4 separate regions of the Homo sapiens genome follow, and all the other regions are linked to region 3. Evidence: promoter capture Hi-C in human tissues and cell types (Jung and others, 2019). All regions are on one chromosome and are shown on one strand. The core of a region is centred on a gene start or on the middle of the fragment in contact, and the rest is flanking DNA. Distances in the headings are between cores, read along the strand shown. Region 1 overlaps SPAG16 (sperm associated antigen 16). Region 2 has its middle 30 kb from the start of SPAG16-DT. Region 3 holds the start of ABCA12 (ATP binding cassette subfamily A member 12). Region 4 has its middle 56 kb from the start of LINC01953.

Region 1 (4,451 bases), core at 789-3,288, 1.3 Mb before region 3:
TATATAAATATAAACATTATGAAAACTTATGCTAAGCTATTGGTAATGGTAACCCTGTGATGATGGAATTTTAGGGGTTGTTATTGTTTTTGTGGTAGTGTTTATCTCTACTTCCTTTTCTTTCTGTGCAAGATTCTTTGTTATTTATTTAATTAGAAACACTAAGAAAATTATTTACATAAATTCTATATCTCATAGCCAATATCCACAGTGTTTTTCCTTTTAGGAGACTCATAAATTCTTCCCCTAGAGGAGCCTGATATGCTAAATTTCACAGGAAGGCCTTAGAATAGACTACATCACTGGGACCTTTGGTATAGGCTGACTTAATCCCTCTGTTCAAAACTTGCTTCAAATATTGCCTAGAATATACTCAATTATTAATAAATGCTGAAAGGAATAAGACAACATCTAAACCCATCTCTCAGCTCTTATATTTGTTTTTGTTTGCTTGTTTTATGGATGTGACATTGATGATATACTTGTGTGACGTCTTTATGAGTGATTCTCAAATTATTGTGCAATTTCCATAGGTAGAATCTTTCCATTTATATTAATTCTAAGTAGTATAATTCCTTCTCTCTGTTTTTATAGCATCATTTGCTTTATAAAGATAGATGAAAAACAGGAGTCTGAACGTTTTTCCTGTTTTCTCTGTCACTGAAAGAAGAATGTCAGTATACTTAAAGATAAGCAATTGAATGCAAATAATTTGGAAGAACCATTTTAATCACCATAATTGTACTGAAGCACTTAAAAATGCATGTATGGAATTGAAAAATAGATTAAAAATCCTTTCAATAAGTGTACTCATTTATTTAATTACTTTGAAGTTGGAAGTAAAACCATCCTTTCTGTAGGCTATAGTATTTCACTTTGGGTTAACAACTTAGTAAGATGAACACCATTTTTGACAGTTAGTGTGGGTCTTGATGTTTTATCAGCATTTTAATAAATTTGACTTCAGTCATTTATGTGCTTTATCATTGAGATTTTCCAATATCTTATTCCAATAAGAATGACTAATAGTTATGCTCATTTAAAAAGTAATATTGCAATGCTGAGAATGATCATTGCCTTTATGTTCAGATTTATCTGAGAGTATGTGTGGCATCTTTCCTGAAAAATACACACAAGGTGATTATTTTGTTGGAGACATTGTTTGAAGACCAATTTATGTGTTATCTTTTATTTGAAAAGCAGCTTAAAAAGACAAACCATTCCAGCACAACATTCAACATTTGACAGTTCGGCTCAGTGATAACCTTATTCACTCACACGATGTAATGGTTATTTTTGTTGCAAAGGAACCCTCCCTGGTTTTCTTGTATCTCCATTATACTTTGTCCGTAAGCTCTATGATGCTAGAATTTCCAAATAGATTGATTTTTCAACTAAAATTGAATGTATCTACTTATTCACTTTCAAACCCAAAATATACTCACCTATTTTTGCCTCAAATTCTTTTTAAAGCAGGGAAGTTAAAAATAATTTGTAAATCCCTAATTTCTCCAATTTTCGGTAACGATATCATTATCATCCAATGTATTTTGAGTCAAAACTGTGGTATTATTTTTATTCTTCACTTTTCTAGATCTTTCTTAACCACTTATATTAATTAAAATCTGCCCTTCAAAAATGATCTCTCATCTTTTTTGTCCCCTCAGTATTATTCAACTTGATTATTGCTATTTTAGTTACCTTCTAATTCCACAACATCATCCACTCCCTTGTTCTTTCCCCAGTGGAGTACCTTTGTTCTATGGCCAAAATTATTCTCATAAATTAATCATGAATTTTATTATTAAGCATCACTGATGATTCATCACTGCCTATAAAATAAGATGCAATTTTTTGGCATTCAAGACTCTCCACGATAGTTTCCAAAATTATCTTTTCAGCTCTATAATTTCACTTCTATAAACTTTTAACTCCTCATCTCCAACTCTCAACTCTCAACACTTATTTAGGTTCAAGTCCAGTGGATCATTTATCATTCTCTGAACATTTTCTTTGTAAAGAACTGCCGTCACTAGCTTCAATGTTCTCCATAACTCAGACCGTTATAACCAAAAGCATATTTTTGGTGTAATATTATATCTTTCATGAAGGTTTAATGGATTATTTTTCTTTTTTTTGTTAATTTCTACCTCTTCTGTACTTATATTTTCATTAATATATTTAAAATATTAATATTAGTCTTCTAACAGTTATTATAATATTTGTTTTGGTCTGTTTTATTTTGTGGGTGAAAAACACCAATTATATACAATGTGAGCATACCAGTATTGTGTATATATGTACATATGCATCCTCAAGCATCTATGTGTATGGTCTAAGTGTGTGCATGTGTGTATATGCATAGAGGTAGAATAATGAAGGTAGCTTAAGATGTAAGAGGTAATCTTTGCCTGTATAATGATTTTGTCATGGGCCAATTCTGATTATGTCACATCAGTTGAAGATGCACATCAAGATGTCTGAAATAACTTTCTTCTGCCTGTTCTGACCTTTGTTGTCTCACTTTAACTCATCATCCAGCTGCTGCCTGAGTATTTTGCTTTAATCTATTCTCTACTCAGCTAAATTAGAAATACTATTTTAGATGAAAATAGCACATAAGTATCCACTGAGAAATCCCTGGTGGTTTAATTATCACTGATTTTTTTTAGAAGCAATTTGAAATGGTCTCCAATTGTGGTTAATTTAGCAATGAGTTTTCAGTGGTGTGGACATAGTAATAAGTGTTAAAATATTAAACAAGCCTTCATTTTGATTGCCAAATTTCTTTTAGAGCAAAACTAATATAGAAATCCTTACAGTCAAGGCTTCTTTACAAATCCAAACCTGGAATGTGTGTGTGGGTTTGTTTTTAACCTTGCAGTGAAAAAATAAATTCCTCATTAAAGAAAACTAAAGTTTGAAAAAAAAAACATAAATCCTTTGCATATACCCCTTATTTTTGAATCATGAGGCATTTTTGGTAAAAGTGGAAAGCAAATAATGTCACTTATCTTTAGTATAACTTCTTTTTTTATACAAAGAAAATAGTTTTAAGGAATAAAATGGTACATCAGATTCAACTCCTGACTAGATAATCATAATATTTACGGAAGACTATTTGACAACAGCTTAAAGGATACACAAAATAAGAGCATTAAACCATGTAAAAGGGATTAGACTAGTGTTCTCTCAGCAGTGGTCAGAGTTGCATAAATCTGAAACTTGAATGGGAGAAGAAATGTGTGCATTCTAATCCTAAACATGAAAAATATTCATTCTGAAATCTACGTTAAATACTTCAAATAAAAAAGTATTTATAATATCCATATGGGTTTTCTAAAATATATTCTTCCAAAATATAAGTCAAGCATGGTTAAGACAGGCCCTTATCATTTAATGGAAAGGATTAGGAGTGAGTATAAAAATGTTTTAAGTCACGTTTTGCAAAGTTTATTCTGTGGAAAGTAAGTCCTACAAGGTACTTAATGGAAAAAGGTGTTCATGAATAAATGTTTTAAATATTTTGTACATATTATGTCATCCTGTATTGAAGTTAAAGCATTCATTAACATATTAAAGACTGAGTATTTTGCAACACATTGGAAGCCAACTTTTCTCAAAATTATTTCAGAACAAGATAGCTTCCCAAGCCAAATGTGTCTTTCTTTTTTCTTAAAACACCAAGCCAGTATTCATCGAGACAAATTCTCAGAAATGTTGTTTAAAAGTGTTACCAATTAAAAACAAAACAAAACTTTACAGGTTTGTTTGTTACAGAAAACAGAATTGAAGTAAGAACTACTTTGCAATGGCTCATAGTATTAAGTACATAAAATAAAAGTGCCAAGGAATCCCATAGCTTTTGCTGACGGAAGCAAATCGCACTCACTGTACTGACTGTGCAATATTCCATTTGACTTCATTGAAGTTCTGTTTTCTCATAAAGGAGCAACAGTTGTGCCTCCCTCAGTGTGTTGAAAGGATCATATACAGCTATTTGTTTTAACAGCCCTAAAGTGCTACAAAATTTTCAACTTACATTTGCCTCACACTGCCTAATAAGCTTGATTTTTCATGTCAGTTCAATTTCCCCAGTCTGAAATGACTATTGTAAACATGTTCTCCTCTCACTTCTCTTAGGACACTCTAGCAGCATTGTTCATCAAACAGCATTGCTTCCTAATTTTCAGTGAAAATGAGTATCTTTTTTTTTTTTTTTTTTTTTTTTGGAGACCGGGTCTCACTCTCTTGCCCAGGCTGGAGTGCAGTGGCTTGATCCTGGCTCACTGCAACCTCCGCCTCCTGGGTTCAAGCGATTCTCCTGCCTCAGCCTCCCGAGTAGCTGGAATTACAGGCATGAGCCACTGTGCCCAGCCGAAAATGAGAATCTTCTGGGCAGTCCTCAGTGTCTAGCTGCCACATCTCTAAAACTGGCCTCCATCTTGCCA
Region 2 (4,212 bases), core at 596-3,095, 1.9 Mb before region 3:
GTTCTTTACTTTTCCCTGCAATGAATGGGCTGTTTGTATTGTCCAGCTTAATACCAAGTCAGCCATTAGTGACTAATGGATTAGCAGCTTGAAAAGGTGGATATTATTGACAGGCACAAATGGATTTCTAAGCATTTCTCTAAAACTACTTGCTATTGTTCCTTTCACGGGAGCAATTAGGCATGTCAATCTTCTTTTGCAATTTTTGTTTTTGTTCCAATCAAAAAAATAGGGTTTGCAATTCTAGGATTTTCATTTTGCTTCAATCTTGGGGATCTAGTCTGCCTTTCAAGGATTTTCATAGTTGATTAATGGTGTGAAATAATGCATTGATAGAGGAATTATTTGGAAGCAATTCTAGGGTGATTATCTGTTTTTGTTTTATTTGCTATTGTGCTTTCCTTTAACTCAAAAAAGTGAAAGATAATTATTATATTTGATCTTGTGTACATGTTTGTGATTTTCTTCAACATACTAGGAGTGTCTTTTATCTGTTACAAAGACATTTTTAGTCCAAGTAATTTGGGCATAAAGGGTACACTCTATGATTCCTCTATACATTATATTTAATCCACTACTAGAGCCAAGAAAAAGCCAAATTTAAATAAGTGATTTGAAAATTTTGTATTTAAACTGAAATGGTATAAACAAAGGTGGAACATGTTTACAGGAAGATTAAAAGAGTTCCGACATTGCATTTTGTCTAGGTGCCTGGCATCAGTCAACTCTACTATTCTATAGGTATTGCTATTCTTTGTATTTATGGTTGGTATTAGCGGCAAAATAGCTTGCAGCTGGTGCTGAATGCCTCAGCCTTATTATTAGAGCTATTGAGATAAAATTATCTCTACTTTCTATTTCAAATTGGTTCAAGTCTATCAAGTTCAAGGCTTTGACCTCTTTGTTTTCATTAGAATCCATGTAAGACAAGGAATATTATCTCTGTAGGTGTTTTAGGCGCTTTATACTGTAATTCAAATAGGAGAGGTTCGTGTGTGTACCTTGGAGTGGAGCAACATTCTTATACCTCTTTGTGTCCTGTTCCTGGTATGCTGCCATATACAGGCTAGTATGTCGTTCAGCAAATTATTTGTTAAAGCTTTAAATAGGACAGCTGGCTATATAAGCCTGACAATTTGCTCTTCAAAGTTTAATCTGCCAGGGACTACTCAGTCAGCTTGTCTTTTAAGCAGGGCATTGATTCTCTCTTCCACCTTCTCTAGGGACCAAGACGTTTCCTAAAAATATTATTCTGTTCTACTTGTGCCTTGCTTTGAAAAATACCTGAAGATTCTTGTTGCTGGGTCACATTTATTTTTTAATTTGAGACTTCAGCAAGACAATACAAAAGATTAGCTGAGAAGTACAGAAACCATACATGTGTAGTGTGTGATTTTTACAATCTATAAACTTGAAAATGTGATTTATTTACATTCAGGTGATTTTAGTTATTTCTGAAGTTTCTCTCAAGCATTTGAGGTTTAAACTCAGTTAAGTTCAGGGTTTCATCTTGCTCCCTTCTGTCTGAATTGGATTTTAAATCATGAGGCTGTAGAAAGTTCTGGGGTTGCCTCAGGTTACCCAACTGTGACCTGCATCTCATGCTGCCATCTCTATTCTCCAGCTCCATTGCACTCTGGCACTAGGATCACATGCGAGGCAACTGCTTCTAGGAGTTCCAGATGTGCAGTGGGCCATTCTTTTTTCGTCTTGGATCAGCACTCTTATGTAGCGGTCTACTACTTTTCTCTCTACCTTCCTTGCTCCATCACCCACTTGACCTAAAGGAGAACAAGACCCAAGTCTTCCCATACCAGGGTGACATTCTGTCAATGTTGACTCCGTAGGTTCTCTTCTTCCACTCCTCTTGGAAGCTCTTACCTGATCTAAGAGGAAGGTGAAAAGCAAAGCAAAGCAAAACAAAGCAAACACCTTCCGCCATAGGCACTCTTCTACATAGTTTCTCTCCTTCAGACATTGATTGTTAGCCTTCTAGGGTAACATACTTGTGTGGAAGTATGAGATGGGAAGGAGGCACTTCAACTAATGCCTCTCATACCATCCCAGTATTTTTTTTGTTTTTTGTTTGTTTGTTTGTTTTTTGCTTTTTTATTTTGAGATGGAGTCTTGCTGTGTCACCAGGCTAGAGTGCAGTGGCACGATCTTGGCTCACTGCAACCTCCGCCTCCTGGGTTCAAGTGATTCCCCTACCTCAGCCTCCCAAGTAGCTGGGACTACAAGCACATGCCACCATGCCCCGCTAATTTTGTACATTTTAGTAGAGACAGGGTTTCACCATTTGTCCAGGATGGTCTCGATCTCCTGACCTCGTGATCCGCCTGCCTCTGCCTCCCAAAGTGTTGGGATTACAGGCCTGAGCCACCACGCCCGGCCCATCCCAGTTTTAACACAGTATAATGAACTCTATAAGGAACGAGTACTGGGGACTTTTGAAATCTTTGTAATACCTCTATAAAGGATTATTAGCTCCTGTTTCCAAGTGGACTTAGAAAGACAAAGATGTAGCAACAGCATATTACAGAGCAGCATGATGCCAGTGTAAATTCAATGTTACCTATCAGTCTTCTCTTACTGGGATATTAGTCAAAATTTCAGGCAGAAATGTTAGGAAAATAGATTTGCTAATTCTGGTTTCGTTGTCTCCTGCCATCATACCTGTTCTCAATCATCTGCTCCTGCAATTAGGGATAATCTACATCTAATTTTTTTATTTATTCCAGTTCATGTCAGAATGGTTATATCCTGTATCAGCACTGATATCTTCTGTCTGGCGTTCTCAGTACACAGACCAAGGGTTCTCAATCTTGGAGCTATTGACACTTTAGATCAGATGATTCTTGGTCGTGCAGGACTGTCTTGCGTATTTTAGCAACATCTCTGACCTCTGCCTCCTAGAGGCCAGTAGTACTTTCTCCAATCCGGCCAACCAAACACGTCTCCAGACATTGTCCAATGTCTCCTGGAGGGCAAAATCACCCACCTCCCATTAAGAAATACTGCATAGGATTTTTATCTGTAATTTCACTGCTCCAGTATTATTTCTATTCTTTACTTGAGAATCCAGTTTTGTAGGACTTCAAATTTGTATCATTCTGGGTACTGTCAGACAAAAAGAAAAAATTATGATAATAAAACTGAGCATAAAATTTAATAATTATTTTGAATGATAAAAAAGAAATTACAATAAATAACAAATTTTGAAAAGCTGACAAACACAACTATCACGAAATTCAGAAAAAATACAATTTTTTAAAATTCAGCTGTTTATAACACACCTATGGCCTACATTTTCAGCTGCCTATTTTTTCAATAAAAATGTTATTTTGTATGTTTAAAAAACATTTATATGATTTTTTAAAATAACTTTTTTGTGTATGTGATGAATTTTTAATATTTTCAAAACAGAGGGAATAGGTGATTTATAGTTACCTATTATAGTGTTTATAATAGTAAATGTTGCATTATCGAGTTTATTCATAACAGGAGAATATTTCTGTTTTCACTTGTCAACTATGAAAATAAAATTCTTTGCTCACAGTTTTACAGGCTTGATATTTGGAAGAATTTTCTATGGGCTAGCTTCTGGGTCCACACATTTCAAACCATTTTCATCTTCCACTCCACACATTCTTTTGGTTCTCAGCACCATAGGACATATTCATATAGAAATTCAACCTGTACCTTTTCACATTGCTGGCACAATCCTGGGTAAGTCACCAAGGGAATGGAGTGGGCATAGGACACCAAAAATGCTGGTGACCACCTTAATATCCCATTATACAAGATAGAACTGTCATGAGAGGACATTAGAATGGACAGAGACATCTTAATTGACAGTAAAACATCATATTTTTTGCAAAATTTTCAAACCTTTATTTCAGTACAAATACATTCCTAGGTATCATCTAGGGCCATGGAAGTGACGTGTAAATGAGGAACCCTGAAACATTAACACTAATGATTTAAAGCAAACACGTTTAACCATAGCTGCTGCTACGGGGGAAACAATGGGGGAGATAGAGGATAAGAGAATACCTAGGCAGGATATTTATATTGGGTTACAGGAAACAAGCAGGGAATTATGGGTTCTTATTTTCTAAAAAATGGGAGGGAAAATTTCCTAGCATTAGTCAACAAAGAAGTTTTATTTTCTACCTTAAAGTTAATAAACCCCCCCGTCAAAAACTTACA
Region 3 (4,117 bases), core at 224-2,723:
TTCACAAGGGTAAATGAACATCTACTTCCTCCTCTTACTACACACATCAAAACACTCAAGTAAAGTGTCAGGCAATCCAAGCAAGCCTGGAGCGAGATAAGGTGCATAGATAAAGTGCTGGTTTCTGTGTGATGCATATTATTTGCATAATATTTACATTACTCATTCAAGGCTGGGAATTACCACTTTAAAATAAAGTATATTGAATACCTTTTTGGATTTCCCCGATTTTCAAACATTCTTCTGAATATATAACAACTCCCAGAAACCAATTCCTTTCTCAATCATCCTGGGAGCCATCTGATGAGGATCTAATAGCTAACTTTGTAATTAGAACGCAAACATTAATGTAAGAGTACAAAAAAGACGTTGCAATGAGCAAGAGAAGATAGATTGTAGTAGTAAAGCTAAGTGATTCAATAATATTCTTAAAACATAGCACATATACATACTCTTGTTTGGTATTCCCAGTAAATGATTTTTAGATACTAAAATTTCTCAGTAGCTTTTCTATACTAATAGCCTTCAAACTATTTCTGTTCTGTATTTTACCTTTCAACCAAACTTTCTATGGCTTTCAGTTTTCCAGTATATTTCTTCCCATTTATTGTACATTTCAAATAATACTTTTCTTTCCTCTATCCCATTTTTAACTACATTAAGAAAAATTCTGAAAGCCTTTTGGCTTGAAACCAGAATTCAACGTTCCAGTTCAGCCAGTAATGAGTCATGTTCTTTTTTTTTTGCCCAGGGCATGTCCTGGTTTACTCTTTAATTTACTGAAATGAAAAGGCTGCTTTTGGGGGCATGTTAAGACTCGCTCCATTAGCTATAAGACAGATAGGGGGATGAATTCTAAATATCTTACTTCCTGCTTTGGAAAATGCCTTTAAACTCTTCTGTTTTCACTTCTCATTAAGATCACATTTTAGGATTACCTGGCGTATTGCCCCATGACCCATACTCCCACACTTTTTTTTAACTCACCGGCTGCCTTTTTACACCTAGCCAATTTTTCCAGACCAGGATCTGAAGCTGATGAAACAGGGAAGCCATCCTTCAAATGCCCCAAATGAGAGATTTCCTCTTCTTTTCTCCACTCCACAAATGAAGAACTGATGCCCCGTCCAACTTGCTGTATGTCAGTGTATCAGTACCCCTTTCACGGCATAGCTTCCTTGAGGGCTGGGGTAAGAAACCCACAGTTCTTCTGTTTCTGCTGGATTTTTCCCTGTGGTTAATCCTTAACCAAGAGGCACTTCTCAATCAACTCTTCTTCCAAAAGAAGGACCCAGATCAGTATCTTTGGGTGGCTTATGCTTATTTTAAAATAATATCCAGTTGCTGCTTGTTGCACGAAGTCCAGACTCAAGAGAGAATGAGCATCATTCAGATAATGCCTCACTGAAAAAAAAAAAAAAGCAGCAGCTGAACCCACACCTCCTACTCTCCATGAAATTAATTGCCTATCCACACCTTAGAGAACATGTCACCTGCACTGGATGCGTCACAGGGACTAGGGGGTGGGACCTTTGCAAGGCCAGTAGGACTTGTCCTACATTCTCTTGTCTTCTTTCCTGCACACAGTGTCTGCTCTAGCAGAGGCAGGGCACAGAGAGCATTTCACAGACACTGGGCCCAGTGACTCTTTAATATTAAAGTGTCATTAAAATGATTTAAGTCAATAAGGCCAGAGCTTAGCTGCAAAGCTCTGAGCCTCAGCCCATCATTAGATATACTAGGGAAAGTGTCCACCTTTAACCTAAAGTTGAATGTTTCGATTTTGGGGGAAGAAACTATGTTGGCCAGGTCCCACCTTTCATCACAATGTACTAGGTTAAGCACAGGGCAGAAAAGGAAAGGTAGGCTGTAGGGGACATAAATTACAAACTGGAGTCCCTCAATTCGTGAGTGGAGATTCACGTGTCTATTACAGACAAGCCACATTGTTTCAGGCTCTTATAGTGAAAGGGGACACAGGCTGATCCAAGACATTTCTATTTCCTCTTTCCATGATACATTCCTCCCTCTCTAAGATCCTGCCTTTCAAAGTTATCCCCAAGTTGACATCTTCAATGAAGCCTTTTTGGATATATCCCATAGGATAGATTCTCTTGCCTTTGAATCATTCTTTGTTGCCCTCTCTCAAGGAACTTAAAGTTTTTGCATTATTTTTATTTGTGTATGTCTTATTTTTCCTACAAGATTATAAATTATTTGAGGACATGGACTATTTTATATCACAGTACTTTACATATCATTAGTGTTCAATACTTGCTGCTGAATGTAATTGAATAAACTACTGGAGCCAAGGCTAGTAGGGTGAAGCTCCCCTTTGATCCTCACACCTACCCTGACTAATCCAGACTTTACTTGCAAAATCCGTTAAAGCATTAAGAGTTCTCCCTTCGCCAGGTGCGGTGGCTCATGCCTGTAATCCCAGCAATTTGGGAGGCCGAGACGGGCTGATCACTTGAGGTCAGGAGTTCAAGACCAGCCTCGCAAACATGGTGAAACCCCGTCTCTACTAAAAACACAAAAATTAGCCAGGCATGGTGGTGGGCACCTGTAATCCCAGCTATTTGGGAGGCTGAGGAGGGAGAATCGCTTGAAACCGGGAGGCAGAGGTTGCAGTGAGCTGAGATGGCGCCACTGCACTCCAGCCTGGGCAAAAGAGTGAGATTCCATCCCCCCTCCAAAAAAAGGAATCTAGCACAGGTCCTGCCTCATAGTAAGTAGTCAATTAATTCTATTAATTGGGTAGCAATGTTTGCTAAGGACTTATTGAATCATCCTAGGAGTCCTATTATATAGAAACTGTCATTATTCCCATTTTCAGTGAAAGAAAGTGATATTTAGAAGTGCCATAACTTGCTGGATTTCACCTAGTTAGCAGTGAGGACAGTGGGAACAGCAGAGAAGGAACTCGAACCTCGTTTCTGTACTGTTAATCTCTGTGCTATGTTTTCTCCAGTCCCATGTATTACACTTCACAGGAAGAGCTGAGAAACAAATGAACATCAGGGATTTTCCCTGTTTCTCTAGGCAGGTCTATAAATCACTTGTAGAGATTTTTTTGTAAGTACACGCATGAAAAATTATGGCCAAAATGAGTTCACAAAGAGTAGTTGCTCCAGGAATTCAGGAGAAGGAAGGCTGCTCTTTTAGGCTTCTTCATAGAGCCTCACGGCACTTCCCAGCCTGGCTCTTGCCAGCTTCATCAGTTGTCTCTCCACCTTCAGCCCTCCCTCCTGCCATCTGCTAGAATACTTTAGATGAGGACTGTTCACTTTCAGGCTTTGGTCATGCTGTTCCCTCTGCCCAAAATGAAATTGTGCTCATTCTCAAATGACTGACTCAAGTGTAACTTCCCCTCTGAAGCCTTTTCCAGCACTTCCACCCACCACACCCCCACCCCCGGCTGAATTAATCACCCCTTCATCTGTTTTCCCATAAAGCTTTGTTCGCACAGATAGCCAACTCCCTTATTACCTTCTAGTATAGTCAGTCTGTCTCTCTGTCCATACTCTGAGCCCCTTGAGTACAGGGACCAAGTCTCATGGAACACCACAATTTTGAGATAAATTCTGTATTCCTGAATGGTGAGAATTCTGACCCAACTAAATCTAAGAGCTGGTCTGAAGTAGTAGAAGATAAAGTTGGAGAGTTAGGGACCTAAAGCCAAAGAGGAGGAGATGTCATATTGCGGATTTAAAATGAAAAGTTCCTGGAAACTCTTCTTAAGAGATAGAGTATGATAAAGCCGATGCTGTGGGATGATGAAAATGTTAGTAGAATGAGAAACTGATTGAAGTTGAGACTTGAAACCCTGTTTTTGAATAGAAAAAACAAGTGAATTGAGTTAGTGATGATGTAAAACAGTTCAGAAATTTTAACAGCAACCAGATTATAATTTTACTCCTTTGTCTCAGCACTGGTTGTTGTGTATAGCATCAGTGACAACTTTGTTTGTTTGTTTGTTTTACCATCAACTGACTTTTACATTAAGGTGCTATGGGATACTCATTGCATACAGGACCTGTGAGGTCAACATTATTTTACCTGCTGTATACGTGAAGATGCATAGGACAAGTAGCTTCCTGAGGTCACACAGATA
Region 4 (4,063 bases), core at 784-3,283, 1.9 Mb before region 3:
AGGTATTAGGAAAATAAGATTACATTGTGACCAGTATGTAGATTAAAGCAGACAGTCAGTGCACTGCCATAGCTTGCTTGAATTTTTTACATTCCCAGGCTCTCTGTCTCCACGTGTGTTTTTATTCTCACATTGACAGCACTGTGTCTTTTTATTGCAGGGATGGCCCCTGACTGCCGGAATCTACTTTTTTCCACTGTGGTAGAAGTATTTGGGGACTTATATCCTTCCAGGAGTAGTTCTTATCCAATCACTGATAGGTTCAGGGGTTTAAATATTTCAGCCATTGTGGCTTGATCAGGATAAGTCTGAGGTGTGATCCACACTGTTTAGAGATATCCTCTATGGGACAGAGACAAAGTTACCCTCCATGAAACTTTGCTTTATAATATACCCCTCCTTAGCCTTCTTACCTTACTAGTCCTATTTCCTTGCTACACACCCCATGCCCCTGATTTTCCTGGGAAAATTTTCTATTAATCGTGTTCACATGAGTCATCTTCCGAGAGTCTGTTTCTGGGGAATACAACTTAAGGCAGAGATATAACAATAAGAATTTTAATCTTCTTCCCAGAAAGCAATGGGAAGAATAAAGGGAAGATCAGTCATCCTGTTCTATCTTCTTAAATTTGAGCTTTCTCCACTGACATGTCTCAGATGTGCTTGGGAGGAAAATCAACTCATTTTGGACATCCAGATTCATTCAGGAAATTGGCAATATATATCTGGACTACAGGAAAGAGGTCAGAGCCAGAGATATATTAAATTAAAACAAGCTGGGTTGTAAACTCATAGTGTATGAGAGTTATGCTGATTTACTTTTCTATGAACTACTTGCCCATCCTCACCTAATTTTAAAATTCAGTACAGCTGTGATTTTCATCAAATGTTTATGATCCTATTATAGGATATATTTTTAGCCTTAATAAAAGGAAGTTGATAAAGCTTCATTATCTGTCGTTTCAGAGGAAGAGTAAAAAATCCAACATCTACCAAGTAAGTCTATAATATGTCATCGTAAATCTTCTATTTCCCAAGCCTTTGTCTCTCTCTGACATCAAAGATAAATGACTATTACTAGAATTAATATCTCTTAAATATATCATGATTCTTCAACATTATTACCAAAAGGCTGTTATGAAAACTTCACTAAAATAGAATTTGATTTTCTTTCTATGAACTGTAAGGGTGACTGATTTTTTAGTACTTGTAGTGGAAATGTCTCCCATATTAACTCAGCAGGTTTTCTTAGAATAATAAAATTATTTTATATGTGAGAAAGGAAATTGTAAAATACAGTGGCAAAATTATTCTAGTTTTTTAATCTTCGGAAAGTATGATCATTTAAATCACTTTGATAGAAGAGTTAGTGTCACTTCCAGGCTCTGGATCTTGCTTTAAAATAACATGAGCTTGGGAGCAAAATAATACAACTTATTTGACCTAGGGAGAGCTCTTAAGAAACTTCCTCGAGATCTTTGAAGTACTCCTATTTCTTGTACCAGAGGCAAAAGATAAGTTTAGTTTAAGTTTCTTTGTACTATTGTGAATTACAAACATCATTTCTCTAGAAATGTGTGTGCATGTGAAAGCTCCTATAATAGTTGCTATGGAACTAATTTCTGACATTAACATCATTAAGGCTTATTTTGGATTGGAAGGAAATGCATCTGTAAGACCTCGAAAACTGCTTCCATAATTTGGAGTTGAGGAAGACAAAAATTGGAGAGTGGCAAAAAATGAAAGAAAATATTTGCAAGGGTCAGTTACCCATGACGATTTTACATGTTTTAGTGATGATAGTATCAGAAAAGCAAATATTTTATAGGATTGTTTCCTATGTCAGCATCAATTAAAAGATCTTTCAACTTCCGGAATTATGATGTTTTCATTTTATTTTTTATTCTATTTTATTTTTGAGACAGTCTCTCTCTGTCGCCTAGGCTGGAGTGCGGTATTGCCATCTCAGCTCACTGCAAGCTCCGCCTCCCAGGTTCACGCCATTCTCCTGCCTCAGCCTCCCGAGTAGCTAGGACTACAGACGCCCACCACCACGTCCGGCTAATTTTTTTTTTTTTTTTTTTTTTTTTTTTTTTGTATTTTTAGTGGAGACGGGGTTTCATCGTGTTAGCCAGGATGATCTCAATCTCCTGACCTCGTGATCTGCCTGCCTCGGCCTCCCAAAGATTATATAGCAGTTTGGTTACATAGCCAGAGCCAAACAATACTGACCCACTTTAAATTTTAGAAATTATCTTATTTATTTTCGGGTGTGCTCTAGTGTAGGCAAAACTGTAATATAATTTAAAAATGTACATTTATCCTATGTGCCTGAGGCAGTTGGGGTTTTTATGCTTTCTCTACTCTTTCTCACTATCAACAGCTTATCTCTGACAATGAGGACATCAATTTACACTAAGATGAGAGTCATTGGCTATGGAGAAGCTAATATTCAAATGTAAAGTCATGCAAACTGTCTACCAATCCTTTCCTTGACTTGATTTTTTTGTTTCTCTCCTTATATTTCCTTTTGTTCTGATCTTCCTACTTAACTTTTTAACCTAATCTTTTTCCTTTTATTTTAGAAGCTGTCCCAAATTTATTTTCAGATGAAATTGAGGTATGAATAGACACATAAAACTAATACAAATGATCAATTAAGACTGTGCAACAATTAGCATCATGTCATTTTCATAGATAAGAATGCTGTAGAACAGGGAGGATAAGTGACTTTCCTCAATTTATTAGCACTTTTTTAAGTTACAATTTAGGCCCTAGAGCTCAAGCACTTCTAGTTTGGAAATATTATTCTCAGTGGAACTCCCGACTTTTCTGAGGATGGCTGTGAAGCCAGGTTGCTTGTTGTGACCAGAACACTAAATGTGTTAATCCTGTATTTGAAAAAGTAAACTATTCACTTTTTGAAACATAACCCTTCCCAATTTTGTAATCATAGGTCTTAAATGTAGGTGAGTCGCTTTAGTCAGCTACCAGTCTCTTACTTACAAAGGATAAGCCTTTAGTGGAACAGGAGGAGGAGGTGAATCCTACATATCATGTGACCTACAAGGAGGAGAAGCTTGGTAGAGAGGTTGACTACTATTACAAAACACACACACACACACAGACACACACACACACAGAGAATAAAAGCTGAAAAGAAATGCGCTCCTTTGTGTTGAGATCATTACTTCTCCATTATATCATTGTCACACCACCCCACAAGCCCTTGTCTGCAAACTTGTATTCTCATAAATGAAGTATATAATGTTCAATGAAATTCAGTTTCCACATTACCTTTGAATTTTATTTTTAATATGAAGATCAGATGTATGAAAGGATATGAGTTTGGTTATAATTAAAGCTAAATCACATTTGAAACTTCTGAGTTTTTCCACAATTTTTAATTTTCTCAGACTTCCTGCATATCCAGTTTGACCTATTCATGCAGATTTTTATCATCAAATTGTAAATTTTGAAAACTTTTTCTTCATAATGCTCCACTATTTTTTAAATAATGCTTATGTTTAAAACCAGAATAGTTTTATAACATGTGTCAGTAAATAACATTTATGGCAAAATAATGAAATAAACAACCATAGGTAACTGCTATATACTTATCAAATCCAGTGTTACTAGGATGAGAGAAGCAACCCGTTAAATCTCTGAGGAGGGAGAAAGAAAACAGAGAAAATGTCGCTGTATGTTTCTCCACTGAATGTATATTTCTCTGAGATTACTTTTATAACTTGTATACTATTTTTATTATTTTGACACTTAATTAGTGTCACTAATTAAGACATTTCATGTTCTTGTCATTATAATTTCTGGTCAATTTTTTTATATTTGACGTTTTAGAATTTTTTTTGATCAGAAATACTATGAAATTTTTGTGTACGTGGCTATCACATGTGTCTTCCAAAATATGTGTTGCCTAATTAAAGTAGAAGTTTTTACATAACAATATCTAGTTTTCTACACATTAATTGAAATAACTATAACCTTCTTAACTAAAAATACAAAGTGATAAAAGGGTGTATTTTAAGTTTACTACATATTAAAT

The links. Contacts are between HindIII fragments. The study calls those that stand out against the background at their distance.
Region 1: a contact is called between a fragment that was not itself captured here and the fragment with the promoter of ABCA12 in region 3, in 1 of the 25 tissues and cell types used here (H1 embryonic stem cells).
Region 2: a fragment that was not itself captured here is called in contact with the fragment with the promoter of ABCA12 in region 3 in 1 of the 25 tissues and cell types used here (lymphoblastoid cells).
Region 4: a fragment that was not itself captured here is called in contact with the fragment with the promoter of ABCA12 in region 3 in 1 of the 25 tissues and cell types used here (lymphoblastoid cells).

Annotation. Positions count from the first base shown.
Region 1 is chr2:213,788,370-213,792,820 of GRCh38, forward strand. The region is part of intron 10 of SPAG16 (sperm associated antigen 16); the gene reads left to right. Among named protein-coding and RNA genes, the nearest start is that of MIR4438, 33 kb to the left of the region's middle. The HindIII fragment of the contact is 5,751 bases long and covers 1-4,451 here.
Region 2 is chr2:213,252,314-213,256,525 of GRCh38, forward strand. No RefSeq gene overlaps it. Among named protein-coding and RNA genes, the nearest start is that of SPAG16-DT, 30 kb to the right of the region's middle. The HindIII fragment of the contact is 4,005 bases long and covers 1-3,848 here.
Region 3 is chr2:215,137,153-215,141,269 of GRCh38, forward strand. ABCA12 (ATP binding cassette subfamily A member 12) reads right to left here and starts at 1,474. Exons shown (of 53, transcript NM_173076.3): 1 at 988-1,474. The coding sequence starts at 1,056. The HindIII fragment of the contact is 12,690 bases long and covers 1-4,117 here.
Region 4 is chr2:213,221,538-213,225,600 of GRCh38, forward strand. No RefSeq gene overlaps it. Among named protein-coding and RNA genes, the nearest start is that of LINC01953, 56 kb to the left of the region's middle. The HindIII fragment of the contact is 4,523 bases long and covers 1-4,063 here.